2 separate regions of the Homo sapiens genome follow, and region 2 is linked to region 1. The links are contacts of gene promoters, found by promoter capture Hi-C in blood cells and fetal thymus (Javierre and others, 2016). All regions are on one chromosome and are shown on one strand. Each heading gives the region's core, a stretch centred on a gene start or on the middle of the fragment in contact. The rest is flanking DNA. Distances are from core to core; before and after follow the strand shown. Region 1 holds the start of TMEM174 (transmembrane protein 174). Region 2 overlaps LINC01386 (long intergenic non-protein coding RNA 1386).

What was found. Contacts are between HindIII fragments. The CHiCAGO score rates a contact against its expected background, and 5 or more counts as called.
Region 2: a fragment that was not itself captured here is called in contact with the fragment with the promoter of TMEM174 in region 1 in 3 of 17 cell types (endothelial precursors, M2 macrophages and total CD8 T cells); the score reaches 7.5 in endothelial precursors.

The regions. Positions count from the first base shown.
Region 1 is chr5:73,169,725-73,175,790 of GRCh38, reverse strand. It overlaps TMEM174 (transmembrane protein 174), which reads right to left and starts at 2,598. Exons shown (of 2, transcript NM_153217.3): 1 at 1,922-2,598; 2 at 648-1,731. The coding sequence starts at 2,547. The coding sequence ends at 1,626. The HindIII fragment of the contact is 4,462 bases long and covers 890-5,351 here.
Region 2 is chr5:73,451,463-73,457,528 of GRCh38, reverse strand. LINC01386 (long intergenic non-protein coding RNA 1386) reads left to right here. Exons shown (of 5, transcript NR_126410.1): 5 at 3,210-3,339. Among named protein-coding and RNA genes, the nearest start is that of FOXD1, 5.7 kb to the right of the region's middle. RefSeq lists a silencer at 5,943-6,066. The HindIII fragment of the contact is 1,057 bases long and covers 1,802-2,858 here.

The DNA of each region.
Region 1 (6,066 bases), core at 1,349-3,848:
ATTTTCTTTTTTGAGCTACTTTTGATGTTCATTGTAGCCCAAATTTATGAACATAAAATTATGGGGTGGGTGAAAATGGCAGGGGGCTGGGGAGAGACAGTCAGAGAAGCACTCAAGGCAAGGGTGGCATGAGGGGCCCAAAATGTCATCTGCTGGTCAGCATGCCACTGGTGATGCTCAGCCTGGTCCTTGTCACCAAACTTCTTCTCCAAAACCAATGGCCCTCAGCTAGGGACCAGTGTCTCAGGGATCTGCTGAACATAAAGCTAGTTTCTTTAAATGAAATCATTTTCACTTATCACCTATCATCAAACATGACAGTGTATGTGAAAAGGTTTTGTCCCCAAGATATAACATAAATGACAACAATAATATACCAAGCTTACTTCACTCATATCCTTGGAAACCTAGATACTTCTGATCAAAATTAGTAAAAGTTGCTCCATATACAAACGCTATGTCAAAATTTTTTTAAGAATTGCTTAATCCTGTGTCTTCCTTTAGGATGTACCACCCTTACCTTGAGTGGCATTGCCTTTGAAGCCCAAAGCAAATATTTTCTTTTAAAACCTAATGGTTTTAAACTGTCTCTTCTAAAGTCTGTGAGTCAGTTCCAGTTGTTTATTACACAGCCAAATTCAGAGAGATTAAGGACACCAAAGTTTTTTTAATGAAGAAGATGAGTTTCTTTTAGTCATAAAGATTGTTTCTATCATATCATTCCCCATGTGTTGACATGGCAACTCTGCTCTGTCTTGCTCCACAGACCTACGGGTACTTAGGGAAGTCCTGTGTTCTGTCAGCCACTGGTCCCAGCTAGTTCATGCTTGGCGCAGGCCCCAGCCTGGGGTGGACCAAGAGCCCACCCATGTTCATCACACGTCAAGCTTCAACCTTGCAGAAGAGAACAGCAGCAGCCAAGGGTCACTGTGACTCAGTGATCGGGAAGGATGTATTCACAGCGCTATCCTATTATGGTCTATTTTGTGTAATTTAGTCAGGTATCCAATACTATTCTAGCAGGAGACATGATTTATTTTATTTCATTGGTTTGATGTTTTTGTTTTGTTTTGTTTTATAGTCTTTAAGGTACCCAGAGTCCTCAGAGAGGCCAGATGGCAGCTGAGTTGTTTGGGATTAGTGAGTCTGCTTTGGGGCCAAGGACAGCCACCAGGAAATCTCCAGCTGGGCCTGCTTTCTCTTCCCTGCTTCCTTCCCACCCGACTCTCACCTCTGTGGAAACTCCCAAAGTCTCAGAAGTCGTGATTTTTCCATTGGCTGCTGGGGTTAAAATTGAGCCACCAATGCCTTCCTACAGAGAAGGGGGAGGGTGGTGGATGAAAAAGTGAAATTCCTGCTCCTGAACCTTATACAGGAGATTTCTTACCCGAGGGAATTTGAAACTGTTCCGGAGGAGAATTTCCCCAGCCCAGCCTAATTTTTACCAATCTGAGAAATTGCACCTCCCACTTCCCCTTTCCCCCCTTGAATGATCTCTGTCAGGCTGCCTGGGCGCTGCTGTAACTTCTGAAGGTTACAACATAGAACACCACGGTTGTCAGGTAACAATGACGGAAACACTTGCTCCCTGAGCTGAGCATTGTGTTATTATATCAGAATAGCCTCTAGCGAGGGAGAGAGTATATTTCTTCATAAGGGGGAGGAGAGAAGCAGGCACAGGCCTCCTCTTCCAGCTGTGTCTCTTCTAGCTGGTCAACATCAGGATTGGGCCTGAAATGTGAGCAGAAAACACAGGTACATTATGGTCCAAAGCACCATTCACAGAACCAAGGCTGCCATCGTGGGCAACAGGCTAAGAAGAGATTCACAGTCTCCCAACACCTTATTCATGGACCAAACAGCCACAGATCATGACGGAGATGGCTAGAAGGAGTGCATTCCCCCAGTAGACACGCCATACCTGTGATTTCCACCGTCCGTGAAAGAAAGGCAGCCCTCATCAACCACAAATGCAGAGTTATCTTGAGGGTAGATGGTGTAGTATTGAGGAGGACTTGACATGGCGGCTGCTGCCCCTCCAGAGGTTATGAGGCCGCAGGGGCTCACCACAGACTGCAGGTAGCTGGTATTTATCCCCATAGGCTCTGGAGAACCATAAGGAGGAGGGATGTACTGCACCACAGTGGCCCCATGGAAGGTGATGGGTTGGTTGATGCCAGTGAAAACAAATGATGGTCCTCCTGGTGTCTGTTCCGAGTCCGGGACCCTTTCCTCACTTTCTTTGCACAACTGGCAGGAGAGCATTTTGAACTTGCACACAGCAATCAGGATGAATGTCACCCCAACTGACAGCAGGACGGGCCCAAGGAGCTGGGTCCATTCAAAGTGGGAGACACCTTGGTATTTGATCCAGCCCATGACAGTGAATGTGATCCCCACCAGTCCCAGAAAGATGCCTGAGAAGAGCAAGGTGGCCCCCGCCTTGTCATCATCGGACACCTGGATGTCAGCGGTGCTGGGTGTGTAAGGAGTGACGGAGAACACATTGACAGGGAAGTCCTCCAAGCGGCCGCTGCCCTGCTCCATTGCTCCTTGTGGGCTCACCCTGCTTCTTAGAGTGGAGAGGATTGTGAGAACCAAGGAATCACAGGTCCAAATTAGTTATAGAAGAACTTAGGGCTTGTGCTTAACAGGGTGTAACACACAGAGGGCTGGACCTTGTTTAGAAGAATAAAGGTCTGAGAAATGAAGCCTGAAGTTTTCTCATGTATTGTCAACAAGTGGAGGTCTCTGTTTTGCAAGTCAATGACAAGCTGTCTCTCTAATTCACATTCATTCATTCACACATTCAAAAATTAACTTATTGAGCCCATCTTTCTCTTTCTTTTTCTTTTCTTTTCTTTTTTTTGTTTTGTTTTGTTTTTTTAGGGTGTGGGTCTCACTCTGTCACCCAGCTGGAATGCAGTGGCACAATGATAGCTCACTGCAGCCTCAACCTCCTGGGTCAAGCGATCCTCCCACCTCATCCTCTCCAGTAGCCAGGACTACAGGCACACATCACAATGCTCAGCCAATTTTTAAAATTTTTTGTAGAGATAGGGTCTCATTATGTTGACCAGGCTGGTCTCAAAACTCCTGGACTCAAGTGCTCCTCCTGCCTTGGCCCCAGGAGGTACTCTTCTATAGCAATTTAAGACGCTGCCATAAGACCCTGTTTTTGTCCTACCCAACTTTGTAGAAATGGCAGAGCTCCCTCAAGGGTCTCCAGCAGTGAATGGGGCCCTTGATATATCCACACATGCACAGGAGTCTAACCTGATTTACCTAGTGGTTCAGTTCATTAGGAATAGACAGACACCTATTTCTTGACTGCGTGTGTATTCCTATCTACTTCAAGAACCCCTAGCTGTGATGATACTTAAACTTTAATAACAGTTCTCACAAAGCCCTGAGATCCTGTTCTTTTCTGGCCAGCCCCACATGCCTTTTGCTTTCTGCGTTTGGGGAGTAATTCCAGCTTTGGGAGAGGAACAACGTCATAGGAAACCTTTTTATGCACTGCATCACTGCCAGTGGTTGAATAAGCATCAGATATGACCTGGCTCACTAGGACACATGCTTCGGACCCTCCCTCCATGGTGGCCACACAGTTCCTGGTCTTCAAGGTGAAACAACCAGCTGTGTTTTGGAACCTACTATGTTTTACAACCAAACCCAAGTTGATGTAGAGAAGACAGTTTAATTTTCAATAACATTATCTGTCATTCATGACTGCAAAACTTCCAAACAGCCCCATGAGTTTCTTCCTCCACTGATTAATAACTGTAGCCTTCTTTCCTTCCTAGACAGATTTTATTCAAGCCGATGCTCTCTGCAGTAATTAAATATTATATTAGCTCCTTTTGCAGAATTGAGAGGGCTGCCGTCTTGCCCTAAGGCAGGGCTTCCTAAACTTCCCTTGACAAAGAAATCACATGGGCCACTTTTTTAAAGGACAAAATGTGAGCTCCCATTTCAGACCAACAGAACCAAATATCCAAGGGAAGGACCTCAGGTGATTCATCATCAAGAAATCTTAGGAAACCCAACCCCAGGTTAACCTTAAATGCTTCTAGGAGACCAAAGGACATTTTTCCCCATGAAAATGCCTCTCCCTGCTACAGGACAAGGCTTGTAATCTCCTACTTCACTGCCAAACAGATGGAAAAGCAAGCAGGTGACCCCTGAGGTATCTTCCTGGATGTGCCTTGGAGCAGCAAGGCTGGAGTGGAGTTGCTATAGGAACAGGCTGCCCTTTTTCCCACTGAGCTAGATCAGAGATCCAGGAAAGCCAGATTTTCTCTTTAACTATAAATTTCTGGTAAGTTAGCCTGCCATTATTTTCAGGTTCTTAACTCCTAAGTTAACAGTCAAAACAATCCCTGACATTTAGAAAAAAGCTAGGATCTCAAAACTGTCTTCTAAATCACTCAATTTATGTTTTCCATTTGCCTTTAGCTATATCCACTAAGAATAACTGGGAAGCCTGAGAGAGTAGAGGAAACAGATCACCCTCCTTTAGACAGCTCATGAATGCAAACTGGAACTGCTTTCAGAGCAGAAAGATCAGAAAGTTCTCCAATTACATTTTCAAGGTCCGTTTGACTCAGCTGCTTCTTCCAAAAGCCCCACCTCTGTCTAGATGGTAAATAGCAATTTTTTTTTAAAGCTAACCAACTGAATTCAATAGCATATTCAAAGGACTATATGCCATGACCAAGTGGAAGGCAAGGCTGGTTCAACGTACAAAAATCAATCTATGTGATGCAGTATATTCACAGAATGAAGGGGAAAAAACAACACACGATCATCTCAATTGATGAGTGAAGGGGAAACATTTATTGAATACTTACTATGTACCAGGTGTAATTCTATACATTTAATATAGGTGACATAATTTCATTCTTTTAACAACCAGGTTACAGTCAAGAAAACTATGCTGATTATTAAGCTATGGTGACTCAGCTCCAAACCCACCTTTCTAAACTTCTCTTTGTCTCAGACTCTCAAAGCACACTTTTCCTTTCCCAGGCTGCTCCAGTTAGGCTTTGCCAATAGGGGGTGCTACAGGGAGACTTCAAGGTGGGAGAAAGGAGAAGGCACTTAGCAGTTTCTATTTTGCTTGCTGTTACTGTCAGTGTCACTCCAACAACAGTTCTTCTTCCTGGCAGTAACAGTTCCAGTTTCCAGAACCCTCCTCCTGCCCTCCAATCAGCCTCACTGTGCCCCTTCAGGGAAACCAACACCAGCCACTGTTCTTTGTCCAAGCTCCTGAGATGCCAGCATTAGCTGAAGGACGTTTTCTACTCAGAGAGCTGCATCCCAGCTCCACAAGGGCCCTTATCCAAGCTTCTGATTTCTAATATAAGCCCAACCTCTTCCTTTTGTTCCCCCAGCCTGCTTTCACTAAGTCTAAGTGTTCTTAGTGTTTATTTTTTGCCTTTTCAATCCTCCAGTATCTGTTAAACTAATTTCCTATACCAAATTCTCTCTATTAAAATAACTGGTATAGTTTCTGTTTCCCTAAGTGATTCTGACTGATATGTCGTATTCACAGTGGGGTTAGGAAACATACCTGTGAAGATGGGATTCTGGAATTGATTTGGTCATATTCTTGGCCTCAAATACAATGCTGAGTCCTCATCAATGAAACATGGGATATTAGTAGATCATGGCATGAAGTGGCATCAAAACTAATAAAAATAGCACCTGTAGTAGGTTGTGAAAAATTGCCTATTGGAGCAAATGCCTTGGGGACCAACTGGCTGCTACACTTAATCACTATGACAATAATGATGAACTGCAAGTTCTGTGGGATGGAGATGGCCACTTCAGAATGCCCTGCAATACTTATAAAAGGAAAAGTAACAAGCTCAGGTCTTTAAATTCAGCTCAAGTCACAGTCAGAGAACCAGAGAGTTTCTGTGGTGGTCCTAAAAGAAACTTGTATCCTATATTTACAGGGCTGACATCACCAAAAGTCAACAAAATTTAAATAGATATCTTTCTATATAGCTATACATCTGTGGAGGCTACAGCCACTCCCTCTTAGATGCTAACCCACCG
Region 2 (6,066 bases), core at 1,081-3,580, 280 kb before region 1:
ATTTGTTAAGTAAATGAATAAGAAGAATTTTAAATCTGGGAAATTAGAAAGTCACTGTTAACTCTACAACTTTTTGGATTTTTTTTTTTTTTTAAGAGACAGGGGTTTCACTATGTTGCCCAGGCTGGTCTTGAACTCCTGAGCTCAAGCTCAAGCGATCCTCGTGCCTCAGCCTCCCAAAGTGCTGGGATTACAGATGTGAGCTACTGCTCCCTGTCTGTATCACATTATTTCAGTGAATGCCATTTCCCAAACTGGTATCCCATAGTAAAATAAATTTGGAAAATATTACAACAAATGTATAGTCCTCTGAAAGAGTCACAATGTACAAAACAAACCTAAAAATTTCAAAGTGCTGCAATAAAGTCAACTGCTTTCTTGATGTACCTCATCTTTTCCAAAATTTCCATGGCCAGGTTGTTCCACAGCACACTGATTACCACAGCAGTGGCATATGGAGTAGGAATGACACTATGAGGGCCTATGGAATATGGAGAGAGGATATGAAAGCAATGGGGAAAAACAGATATTGGCGGGGTTGTGGAGAAAAGGGAACACTTAGACACTGTGGGTGGAAATGTAAATTAGTTCAGTCCCTGTGGAAAACAGTTAGGAGATTTCTCAAAGAACTAAAAATAGAATTACCATTCAGCCCAGCAATCTCATTACTGGGTATATATCCAAAGGAAAAGAAATTATCCCATCAGAAGGACACCTGCACTTCTACATTTATCACAGCACTATTCACCATAGCAGACATGGAATCAACCTAGGTGCCCATCAATGGTGGACTGGATAAAGAAAATGTGGTGCATATACACCATGGAATACTACACAGCCATGAACAAGAATGAAATCATGTCCTTTGCAGCAATATGGATGCAGCTGGAGGCCATTATCTTAAATGAATTAATGCAGAAACAGAAAACCAAATACCACATGTTCTGACTTATAAATGGGAGCTCAACATGGGGTACACATAGACACAAAGATGGGAACAATAGACACACTGGGGACTCCAAAATTAGGGAAGAGGGCAAGGGTTGAAAAACCGCATATTAGGTACTATTTTCACTATTTGGGTGATGGGTTCAATAGAAGCACAAACCTCAGTATCATGCAATATACTCATGTAACGACCCTGCACATGTACCTCCTGGATCTAAAATAAATAAAATGAAAGAGGAGCTTTCAAACTTTTTTATTGTAACCCACACTAAGAAATTATTTTACTCATTTTTAATTATTATTTTTTGTACAGATGGGGTCTTCTTATGTTGCCCAAGCTGGTCTCGAACTTCTGGGCTCAAGGAAACCAAGAGATCATTTTACATAGAAACTCAGTATACATACACACGCACAAAAGTATAAAAATAAAAATAACTGAAATAAAGTTTTCACAAACTATTCTTAGCATTATTATGTGCTGTGCAGTGATGTTTTCTATCCTAACCCATCCCATTCTGTTCTGTTCTATTCTCTTTCAGTTGTGGTCAAAATGCACTAAATTGATTTCATGAGCCAGAATTTTGTCTTTTCCTGCTGCTTTTGGAAGAGCTCCTCAAACTCTTCAAACCCAGTCCATTCTTCAGTTGTATCTATTCTGCTTCATATTTGTTTTTTAAAAATTAAATTGTTGTGGCTCCAGATGAGGGTTTTTTTTTAACAAAAAGAAATTTAAAAAATTGTCGTGGGTACATAGTAGGTGTATATATTTATGGGGTACCTGAGATGTTTTGATATATGCAGGCAATGCATAATAATCCCATTATGGGGAATAAGGTATCCATCCCTTCAAGCTTTTATCTTTTGTGTTACTAACAATTCAACTATGCTCTTCTAGTTATTTTAAAAATGTACAATTAATTATTATTGACAACAGTCACACTGTTGTGCTACATTCTGCTATGTATTCCATCTATTTGCCCTTTATTTTATTACTTTCTTCATACTTAATGTTTCCACTAGGTTTAAAACAATTATTTCTTTCTTTTGCTTAATGTTACTAATAAGTCCCCTCCCTCTTTGATATATGTATTATGCTTGCTTTAAATTCTTGATGTCTATTCCTATAATCATGCTTCAAATGATATGAACTGTTCCATCTGTAGTCTTTCTTTTACACTAATTGTGCTCCTCAGCTGTCTCAACTCAGCACTTTGGAAATTGCTCAGGCTGAAAAATTTGGAAAACATAGAAAAATATAATATAAATAACAAAATGAAAACCACCCATAATTTCACCCAGAGTTAACCAATTGACATTTTATTGTATTTTCTTCCAGTCTTTTGCATGTTTAGTACATTGAATTATTGAGAAAATACTGTATGTAATTTTCTATCTGAACCTTTCTCTTAACTTTAAGATTTTCTCAAGTTATTAAAACTGTTCACGGACCTCGCTTTAGTGATTGCAAAATATTCCATCATGAGAATAATATATTTAATCCCGAGCATTTAGAATGTTTCTATTTTTTTTTTTTTGCTTCTTAAAAAAAAACTGCCGCAAACATTTTGAACATAAATATTTGCTCATATTTCTGGTTATTTCCATAAAATAGAATCTTAGAATGAAAGGATTCAAGGGAACGGACACTAAGATACAAGCTCTGTTTTGCCAAATTGTTTGCTGAAAGGTTTGTACAATTTTATAGTTCCACAGGCAGTGTGTAATTGAATTCCTACCATCATGTTCATCATCCTCATGTAGTTTGCTAATCTGATAGAGTTTTCTCTTTCCTATTTTGCATGTCTCTGAAGAGTAGGGAATCATTCATTATTTGTATTTACTTTTATGTAAATTTTGGGTTCAGGCCCTTCCCAGTTTTTTCTGCTCTGGAAGGCTAGCCGACCAAAGCTTTCTAGCAAAGGTGCTCACACGTGCCTCTAGTGGAAGGTTTTGAGAATGCCTTCTTGCAAAGGGGTGTATGTACCTGACTGCAACCTATGACTTGCAGCCTGGTGTCAGATGGTGGTATCAGGTGAAGTGCCACACTGAGTGTAGACAATGAGGTTTCAGTGTGTTTGCATATGCGTAACAGACAGGTGATAGTTCAGTCTCAGTTTAAGCCTGGAAATCAGGCAATAGTGTGTGTGTGCGGGTGTGAGACAGAAAAGGTTGGTCACCAAATACCTTTTAAATACACACACAAAATTACAACTTATGACAAGACTTTCTCATGACCTCATAAACATACTTTTCATTTTCAGTGTGACTTGTAGACAGCTGCATCCCTAGAGTTACTTTAGAGAGCCCTGTCGTTCCCAAGCAGAGAGATTTGTCTGCACAGCCAGCCTCTGGGTGAAGTACAAATGCAAAATAAATAAATGCCTTCTTCTAGAACAGCAATATTATTTTTCAATTCTTCTTATAACTAAAAATACTAAGTCTATTTCCAGGAAATTATTAGACAATGTGAACAAATACCAGAAGTTTATAGAGCTGCAAAGATGTACTCAGGAGAGTCTGGTGTTGAAGTTAGCCCCCAACAAGAGGAGTCCTCTCTGGAATGGAAATATGTGTATTTTTCAGTTAAATTCATGATAAAAAATACTTTTTGAGCTTTGGGGTACAAAATCTAAACATGTGCCACTACAAACCACTTAGATGCGGAGCTAAGTAAGTCTGTGTGTGGGTGTGTGTTAGGATGGGAGGACCAGTCCAGGTTAACAATGTAAGGAAAATTTCTGAGTCCATGTAAATAATTTTGGTGTTATGAAACACAGATTTGGACTTTTGCTGACATTCTGAATTCTTGAGGATTTCTGAGCCCTGCTCAGGCCATGAAATGCTTGTTTAAGGAATTGTCGTGCAAGCACAAGCTGCCTAGTGGGACCTAGAGGCCACTAAAATATCTTCTTCACAAAGGAATCTCATCTCCCAACCACACCCTCTATAAAAGACCCACCACTGGAACCTTGATTAAGGTGGTATCAAGAGGATGCCCAGGTTAAAATGTACCCATTCTTGGGAAAGGCACCAAACACCGTCAGCCAGTAACAGCTTACCTCAGACTTATTGTCAGACCAAATAAGAGCTGGCCTGAAGAAGCAGGGTGGGGGAGGAAAGAGGCTGGCCCATGGAGTCCTGCCTTGGGAGAGGCTGCTGACCTGGAACAGGAGGACAGAAGGCTCTGCTCTGTCATGGCTGCCTCCATGAGGCTTAGTAGCAACACCCAGAATCTGTCTCCTCAGCCATCACATGGAGATACCCACTTCACCCGTTGTTGAAATTAGCTTGGCGCATGGGAACCAGCATGAGTGGCAGGTAATGTTACACCACAGGAGAATGCTGAAGTGGAGTGCCCTAGACAGCCAGAGAAAAATTTTAGATCATCTTGGGGCTCCCAAGGATCAGGACAGATAAGGAGGGGGACTAAGGGTGTAAAAGCATGGGGTGGGAGTAGGGATGATCACAAATTTGTCCAGAAATAATTCTGGAGGAGTCCCGACTTATGCCTTTTTACTGAAGGTGATGTGCAGAGTCTGAACCTGAAAGTCTCAAAATTGTGAACAAGTTGAGGTTTCAAATCCAGAAGGGCGAATCCCCCTTATGTTGTTCTGTCAGCAGAAACCGTCCCCCCTCACTTCCCCAATGTGTATGCTCTGTTAAGACAATGGGCTTCCTTTGAGGGCTTCTGGGGTGAAAAAGATAGAGGAAAATGAATATATCAAACATTTTATCAGTGTCTACTGCATGCAGAATAGACAAAGAACTAAGTGAGTGGAGGTTCAAAAACTAACAGAAAAAGAGAAGCAACCCAAATGTCCACCAATGGATGGATGGATAAACAAAATGTGGCATATACATTCAATGGAACATTATTCAGCCGTAAAAAAGAAGATATTCTGATACATGCTTCCACAAGGACGACCCTTAAAGACATTATGCTAAGAGAAATAAGTCAGACACAATGGACAAATGTGATTATGATTCCACTCAGATGATGTACCTAGAGTAGATACATTCATAGAGACAGAAAGTAGAATAGTAGTTGCCAGGGGCTGGCGAAAGGTTGGGGGGAGTAGAAAGATGGTTGGGGAAATGGGGAGTTACTTTTTAACGCGTACAAAATTTCAGTTTCGGATGATGGAAAAGTTCTGGAAATGGATAGTGGTAATAGTTGCACAACAATGTTAATGTACTTAATGCCTCTAAACTATACACTTAAGATGATTAAAATGGTAAATTACGTATATTTTACAACCCTACTCGCCCCTTCCCCTACTACCCTAGTAAACAATAAACAACTCAGAGCCCAGGTTTTGGCCCCCACACTCTTGATTTTAACAGGAATGGAAATGCCTGTAGCCCCAAGGAAGGACAGCGAAGGCTAAATGGGCCCTGGGGCAGCGACTCCCGGCATCCCTCCCTTTCGCGGGGGCGTCAGGAGGACCTCATCATCGGGCAGAATAACTACCTACCTGGCTACCCACGGGACGGAGCACCCTCAGGCCAGGCACTCGCGTTTTCTTCTGTCTCTTTTCAGGGCTCACAGTGACAGGTACAAACACTATCGCAATACAGCCTTCTAGAATGACTCTTCAAAGGAGGGTCGAGGCGCCAGGGGAACCGCTGGGGTTGAAAACACGTTCATGTTCACGTTCATGGGTAAAATCCTGGGATGCACAAGGAATAGCCTAGGTTCCTTCCCCGTAAGTCTGAGCCCCCAGGTCTCTTCCAGCCTTCATCCCCCTAAGGAGGTCCCTGGGCTTGGGGCGCTCATGGTCAGGGGCAAAGGACAAAGGGCGGAGGCAGGGAGCCTCCCGACGGTGGCGCAGCCTCTCCGGCTCTCACCTAGCGTAATCCACGTGACCCCCGCGCAGGGGCTCCTGGAGGGCCCAAACCGCTCGTGGGGGGAAAAAGCCTCAGCCTGCAGTCCAAGGACCTGCCTCCACTACCGCCCAGTCCCGGGCCCCCGCAGCCGGTGGGAGGGACGCCCGGGAGCCGGCTGCCCACACTCGAGAAACACAGGCTGCTGGGCGAGTTCCCCGCGCGGGCCGAGCTCCCAGGGAGTTGCCGGCCCGGGCGCGAGGGCCCGCAGGTCGTCGCACCGCCGCCAGGGGG